Regions from separate parts of the Homo sapiens genome. Here region 2 is linked to region 1. The links are contacts of gene promoters, found by promoter capture Hi-C in blood cells and fetal thymus (Javierre and others, 2016). All regions are on one chromosome and are shown on one strand. The core of a region is centred on a gene start or on the middle of the fragment in contact, and the rest is flanking DNA. Distances in the headings are between cores, read along the strand shown. Region 1 holds the start of STOM (stomatin). Region 2 overlaps CNTRL (centriolin).

Region 1 (3,722 bases), core at 385-2,884:
GAAGATTCAATAAAATAATATATACATAAAATACGTGGCACTGGGGGGGTCGCGGTGGCTCATGCCTGTAATCCCAGCACTTTGGGAGGCCGAGGCGTGTGGATCACTTGAGGTCAGGAGTTTGAGACCAGCCTGACCAACATGGTGAAACCCTGTATCTACAAAAAATACAAAATCAGCTGGGCATGGTGGTGCACGCCTGTAATCCCAGCTACTTGGGAGGATGAGGCAGGAGAATCACTTGAACTCGGGAGGCGGAGGTTGCAGTGAGCGGAGATCACACTCCAGCCTGGGCAAGAAAAGCGAAACTCCGTCTCAAAAAAAAAAAAAAAAGTGATACGGAGCCTGACCTATTTAGTTTCAATTTTTGTTGTTGTGGTTGCCATTATTCTCATCAACTCCTCCCTGTTACACTCTCCATTTGGGAAGATAACCTGCAACGTTATTAGTAGACAAAAAGTGAGGAATAAAGATTTCTGTAATTCCTTTGATGCTCCTGGGAAGGAACTGAACACAGGGATCCCTGGACAAGGGAAATGGAACTTATAGCTAAGATGCTGTGGATAAAGCTGGCTTTACAAATAATCAGAATAGATGACTCCAATGTCATGTTCTTTGAGGGGTCCTGGAAAGGACCACCCAGCCCTCTAAATTGCTTTCACTGCCATCCTGCCTGAAATTCCATCTTTAGAAACACTGTAATTCCTCTGGATCACTAAGAGCTCCTGAGTGGGTACCAGGACTCCTGAGAGGTCCACCATCTCTCTTTATTGGAACCCCCTCCCCAGAGTACCAGTTCCTCCACAGGGGAACGAGACTGAGCCACTTACAGCTCCTGCCTTGAAGACTGGGAAGGGAGGGTGGGGGTGAGGGTGGGAGAACTCAGGGTTCCTGGCGAGGAACAAAAGCCGGGAAGGAGAGTTCTCCAAAACGCAGAGGAAAGCGGAGGGGGAAAAATGGGGCAGAAAGTGGAGCTAGAAAGAGAGGTAAGAAGAAAGCCAGAGAGACTTCTTCCTTCTGCAAATCGGTCTAAGTTTCGGGAGGTGGGATTGGGGGAGGAGGGGGTTCACCCTGGGGCCAGGCCAGGGCTGGGTGGAGGAGGCGGCCTTCGAGAGAGTGAGTCGGGAAAGAAGGGGAGTGGGCAAAGGGTGAGATGTGGGGTCCCGGTCCCCGCCTCGCTGGCTGCCAGTTCCCTCTGCGTTTCCTAGTCCGCGTGCGTGACACGAGATAGTGCAGCCCTGGCATGGGGCTTGGCATCTGGCGGCCGCGAGATAACCAGGGCCCGTGCGATGGGAAACGTGCCGTTGGCAGCCCGCCACCCCTCCATCGTGACCTCAGTCTGCCAAACAGGGTTCGTGATGCTCAGTTTACTAGGGAGGAGCCGCGGCTTTGAGATCTCGCCCAGCCCGAAGCAGCGGAGACTGGCCAGGAGCCCGGCTGTCAGACCTCGGAGCGCACGCTGCGGGCGGGGGCTCGGTCCACGGGGGAGGGTCAGGGGACGCGGGACTCACCCTTGAAGGAGTCGGGGAGCCGCTGGGCTTCGGAGTCCCGTGTGTGCCGCTTCTCGGCCATGCTGCCCGAGACGCAGTCGCACTCCCCCGTCCTCGTTGCCAAACCCGGAGCCGCCGGGAATGCCCTGAGGAGCCAGAGGCACAAGACCCAGATTGCCGCCCCGCCCCCAATCGAGGTCCCGCCCTCGTGAGAGTTGGCCAATCAACGCCCAGGATCGAGGAGGACCCACCTCCCAATCCCCGCCCTCCTGTCCCTCCACGGCGCGACTGCTTCGCAGTCACTTCCCGCTAGTTCTGTGGGCTGAGGGGCGTGGCCTGAGGGGCGTGGCCTGAGGGGCGAGAGCCCCCAAGGCTGTGGGTATGAGGCCGGGGCCCTGCACCGGAAGGGAGGGCGGAAGCCACGGGACGTGGAGCAGATGGTGAGGATAGTGGGGAGGTAGCAGCAGAGGATGACCCGAGGCAAAAGTGCAAGTGAAGAAAAGTCGCCTTGCCGGGCAGAGGTACGGGACCAAGGCGCCTCCTCTGGGCTGAGGAGTTAGAGGGAAGAAAATGGCGCCCTGTCATGAGGGCGCGAGGTCCGAGTTGAGGGGAGAAGACTGAGGGACACAGAAGTGGCCGAAGTGAGGGCGCTGAGGTCAGCCTGAGCTGAGAGGGCCGGCAGATCACGCCGCAGCCGAAGTGAACGAACTCGAGTGAGGTGTGTTAAGAAAATCAAAATGTATAAATTTGGAAAAGGAGAGGAGGCCGGGCGCGGTGGCTCACGCCTGTAATCCCAGCACGTTGGAAGGCCGAGGCGGGTAGATCATCTGAGGTTAGAAGTTCGAGACCAGCTTGGCCAACATGGTGAAACCCCGTCTCTGCTAAAAATACAAAAATTAGCCGGGCGTGTGGCGCGCGCCTGTAATCCCAGCTACTTGGGAGGCTGAGGCAGGAGAATCGCTTGAACTTGGGAGGCAGAGGTTGCAGTGAGCCGAGATGGCCTGGGTGACAGAGCGAGACTCCGTCTCAAAAAAACAAAACAAAAAACAAAAAAACAGGAGAGGAGACTTTATTTCTTGTAAGGGGTTACAGCCTGCAAGGTGGCCATTCCGCAGGCTGGAGAATGGCCAGGACCAGAGACAGGCATTTCGTTGGAGGAGGGGTTGGAGTAGCGGCTTTATGCTGAACAGCTTGGGTAGACATGCATATTCAGCAGGTGACAGGAGGAGCTATGAATATTCATGAGGGTGGTCCTGACGCATGCCCATTGAGCAAACATGCATGTAACATACAACCCATGTTCATTTTGGAGTGAAGAGTTACCAATTAAATGTTAAATGCCTGGCCTGCATGGTGACGTCCCCATCTCTACAAAAAGTAAAAAAAAAATAGCCAGGTGGGGTGGTGTGTGCTTGCGGTCCCAACTAGTCAGGAGGCTGGGGCAGGAGGATCACTTGAGCCCAAGAGTTGGAGGCTGCAGTGATGTATGATCAGATCACTGCACTCCAGCCTGATGGACTCTAAAAAATAATAACAATACATGTATTACAGTTAGACCCCATGCGTCAAAAGGTCTTTTCAGGACAGGAAGGTGTGCAAGTATGCAGTCTGTGTAAACTAGCCAGAGCCAGTCCATGGTCGGTAGTTTTCCTATGAGGAGAAAGTTACTGAAATCAGCCTCTTGTCCAATTAAAGCTGTAATGATGGCTGGTGGAATAGGGGTTCCATTAGGCCACATCTGGTGGAGCTGCAAATTGTTTTAATATTGCTTATCTCGAGGCCAGTGCTTGTTAAGCTGCTAGAGAAAGAGAACAACCTTGTGGCAGTTAGAACACAGTTTATTCTCTAAGTGAAGGGATGTGTGCCTTAACCTTTGCCTGGCATGACCTTAGGTATAATTTGTTTATAATTTGGTATCTTATTGTCACAAACAGTCTGTTCTGTCAGTCTTATGATCTGTGTTTTAACGTTAATGCTGGTCAGCTGTTGTGTCTAAACTCCAATACGATGAAGTTATAATGAGGCGAGTCTGACCTTCTGTCCTGTCATTGGCTGGGAACTCAGTTTTAAAGTTTTCTGGAGTCCCCTTGGCCACAAGGGAGTCCATTCAGTCGGTGGGGTCATTTATTCAAACAAAATCTTCTTGGAGCATCTTCCATGTGGCAGGGAGTGTGCTAAGGGCCTCGTGGAGTTTACCTTATACTCTAGTTGGGAGATGGGCCACAAACAAGT
Region 2 (4,136 bases), core at 1,452-3,951, 260 kb before region 1:
TTACATTTTAAGTTTTGAAACTGGCTTGTCTTCTTGGGAAATGTGGTTGTGTGCGTATGTATTATTTTTTTTTAATGGATGTTTATATAGGAGAGCAAATTTGAATGTGGGGGAAAGAATTATTTTTCTGATTGGTAAATATGTTACCTTCAGTCAACTCTTGATTATCCAAAGCTAATACTGTGACTAGCCTACTTTCCAGTTCATTTGACATCTATTTTGCTTTTATTCATGCATTTCTTCAACAGATATTTATTGAGTGCTTACAATATGCTAAGCCTGGGGCTTATAAAAGTCACAAAAGTACTTTGAAATGCACAGCCTATTTATTATTATTTGCCTGCAGAGACCAGTTCATGTATTCTCTGTGATTCCAGTCACATTTGCCTGTTGTTTGCCACTATTGCCAATGAGTTTTGAGGAGAGAACCCAAGATTAGTTGACAGTGTTGATTGTGAGTTGCTTTCTTGAGACTCGGAGACTTATGATCATTCAGTGAAAATATCAATGTGGGTAATGTGCTGGACACCCTGCAGCAGTACATCGAAGGCAGCATGGAAGAATAGGCAGTATTGGATTTGAAATCAGGAGACTTGGAATTGAATTCTGCCTCTTCCACTACCAGCTGTGAAATTGGGCAAGTTATTTAACTTCTCTGTGCAGCTTTTATCATCTTATTGGGTGGTTGTGAAGATTTAGTGCAATAACATATGTAAAATGCTTAGCACAATGTCTGGCACACATTGAGTATTTGGCTCAATGTTACCCATTATCTAGGCTATTACTTCCATTTTGATGGATAATCAGGAGGTGACTGTGAGCTAAATCATGCACGACTTTGATTTCCTGGGCCTTGTAAAATGTTTGTGTTTGTTTATGTTTTATTCTCTTCAGCTTGCACTTTTATATTAATGAAATTTTTCTGCATGTTTTTTCTTTGATATCTACCATCAGATACTGGCCAAAAAAAGACAAAAATCACTTAGTGGATCTTTGAAATAAACTCAAAGTTTGGTTTAGTAGAAAGGAGCTAGTACTAGTAGTTAGTTAATAAAATATTTAGTTTCTGACACTGATCTAATATGTAACTTTAGACAAGTCAGTTCATCAATCTGAGACTTAATTTCTGTATTTATAAATTCAGAGAATTAGATTGGATCATTTGTCTTCTCCAAGCTCCAAAAATTTCTAAGAATAAAAAGTTATAGTAGAATTACTTTATTAAAATTGAATATTACATATTTGGATCTGGTTGAGCTTATTCACATCCCTTATTCTTTATTACAAAGAATAATATTCTGAACACTTAATACTACAGCAACAACAGTATGACAATTAAAACCAAGCTCTTCTTTTCATCCTTCTCATTCCTCTTTATTTCTCTGCAGTTAATGTCAGTTATCATTTTCCCTTGTAATTTGAAACTATTGTTAAAGTCGGAAAGTCAGTTTAAGAAATTAGTGCTAATTATTGGAAAATCAGGAAGCAGGTATTTATTAGGCCAGTTACACAAAAATAATTGATACAAAAATATTTTCATGTTTAACAAATTTAAGTGATTTTTAAAATCATTATTCATTATATCGTGAAGCAGCAGATAAACTTCAAAGGTCTTTTACATGATCTCTGATGAAATAATAATTTTGTATTTCATTTTTTATAATTTAGAAGTAAGATAAAATGTTCTGAGTGTTGTGCAGCTTACTGTGAAGTTTTTAAACATATATGATTATAACTTACGATGAGAACTTACCATATCATCACACCTTTATACTAACTTACTGATCCTGTATGTTGTCTCATATCAAATTGGGCCAATAGCTAAAACAGAAGACCATAGAATTAACACGAGCATGTCAGAAGCAATATGAGCTGGAACAGGAATTGGCCTTTTATAAAATTGATGCTAAATTTGAGCCACTAAATTATTATCCATCAGAGGTGAGTTATTTTAATTTTTTAGTAATCCAAAGTTAAAGCCCACATGGGATGGAATGGGGGAGGGCAGGTGGTGAGGACATGTAAGGGATTTGATCAGATATCACTCCACTTTCTTGTTATGAGAGGATTAAACTGTATTTTGGTTCAATCTATGACTTATTTGGCTCCGGGAGTTAGAACAGAATCCTAAAGAGGTAAAAAACTTCAAAAGAATCTTTGCCCATAGCCATATCCATTACCAAAAGCAGTCGTCTAACTCGCAGCTATCTTTCCCAGGTGTATGGGTTGATCAGCTCCTTTAAATCCAGACTTCTGGGAAAAGTGCTTCAGTACCATGGAATAGTCATCCCCTTACATGGTTTGTTCAGTAATTACTGGGTTCAGTATTAATCAATCATGACTGGTACAAATGCCATAAATGTCACTGCAAGTGAGGAAATGCCAAACTTCTAAGACCCAGTGATTCCAACCAATATCATATGATATTTCATTTTTAAAAATTCAATTATTAAAATATATTATACTGATGGCTACACACCATGTATCTGAAAAAAATATTAGACTGAGATTTTATTTATATGAGCCAAGAAACCAAAATAAAACACCCATATTTCTAATTTGAGAGATCAAGCAGTGCTAAAAATCACATAACTGTAGGCAGTTCTTTAATCAATCAGTCCAAACTTTCACTCTTCTGTGGTAAGAGGAAGAATTCTTTTGAGACCATTTTTAGTTCTAATTTCCTTTTTTGGTATATTAAGAAGAAGATAAAAGAATAATATATATCTTTCAGCTCCTAGGCATGTAGAATTTATATAAACTTGAGCAATTCTGTGATATGTTTGCCACTAATAAAATGAATAATGTCATTTGACTGCTTGGAGATCACTTATTAAACCATAAATCTATTATTTTGCTTTTAGTATGCTGAAATTGATAAAGCCCCAGATGAAAGCCCTTACATTGGCAAATCCAGATACAAGAGAAATATGTTTGCCACAGAGAGTTATATTATTGACAGTGCTCAGGCAGTACAGATCAAGAAGATGGAGCCAGATGAACAACTTAGAAATGATCACATGAACTTGAGAGGCCACACACCACTGGACACGCAACTGGAAGACAAAGAAAAAAAAATAAGTGCAGGTTAAAAAAAGTTATTTTAAATTCTTTAAAAAAAAATATGAAAACATTGAATATGTAGGCCAATTTTGTTTTATAAGTCTTTTAATTGAACATGTTGATGGTATTGTTTCCATGAAAAGTCTAAAACAAAAGTAGTGATTATCAAGCAGATTTATCGAGCATTTATTTTGTAATGATTCCTGTTATGGTTAAGAATGGAGTTTTTGGCAGTAATTTGATGGCAGCATGTCCAGGGGATTCAAGAATGAGTAAATCCCCTCCTTCAAATAAGCACTGGAACTATATATTCGAAGTCACAATTAGTAATAACTGAAGCAAGTAAAGAACCACTTGATTGATTACTATGCATGTAGCAAAAACCTAAAGCAATGCTTTGTATAAGCTGCAACAGAGCATTCTCCTCAGGCCTGGGCCGAAGGCTAGCCTCTGACTTTTCCTGACATGCCCCATGCCCCACAATCTAATTCAAGGGATCTTAATACCTTCTGGCAAGTCACATAAAGGAATAAGTCAAGGCAGGGGGACACTTTAGAGACCCTGCCAATGACAGACTTTGAATCTATTTACCCACTCAGCTGCATGGATATGGAAGAAAGAGAACTCTGACCAGGGTTTGTGCATCCCCCCAGCATTATGGCCCACTGTGGTGCTCTCAGTCAGACCAGCGGCTTATCTTTCCTTGACTGGTAGCTAAGTGGAAGGCATGGAAGGCAAATAGAGGTTGACTTGGTGAAGGAAGAAAAGAAACTGAGTTATTTATGTCTGCGTATACTATATGCAAGGCTCTGGGGGAAAGCAAAAATAAATCAGATTTTTATGCAGACTAGCTTTAAAGGGGCTGGCTCATAGTTTTATAGGACAGAGGGAGAGAGAAATCTTAAATTTGAGGTTGAAAATAATTGATTTGAGATCATCAACAGCTGGGAGAGAGAGCTCAGTAGTGAATTTCTTGATATTGAATTCCATCATAAAGCATTTGCCTCTAACACAAGGTTTTATGGGTTATTTTTAATATCCTGAACCTAATTATAACTTAGTAACATGTAAAG

The links. The method cuts DNA at HindIII sites, captures the fragments that hold promoters and counts their contacts. A CHiCAGO score of 5 or more calls a contact.
Region 2: a fragment that was not itself captured here is called in contact with the fragment with the promoter of STOM in region 1 in 1 of 17 cell types (neutrophils); the score reaches 5.4 in neutrophils.

The regions. Positions count from the first base shown.
Region 1 is chr9:121,368,616-121,372,337 of GRCh38, forward strand. It overlaps STOM (stomatin), which reads right to left and starts at 1,635. Exons shown (of 7, transcript NM_004099.6): 1 at 1,512-1,635. The coding sequence starts at 1,572. LOC102723324 (a long non-coding RNA gene) reads left to right here and starts at 1,278. Exons shown (of 7, transcript NR_187160.1): 1 at 1,278-1,351. RefSeq lists enhancers at 1,640-2,600, 2,060-2,149. The HindIII fragment of the contact is 8,041 bases long and covers 1-3,722 here.
Region 2 is chr9:121,110,638-121,114,773 of GRCh38, forward strand. It overlaps CNTRL (centriolin), which reads left to right. Exons shown (of 44, transcript NM_007018.6): 9 at 1,822-1,941; 10 at 2,865-3,087. Among named protein-coding and RNA genes, the nearest start is that of CNTRL, 38 kb to the left of the region's middle. The HindIII fragment of the contact is 7,260 bases long and covers 1-4,136 here.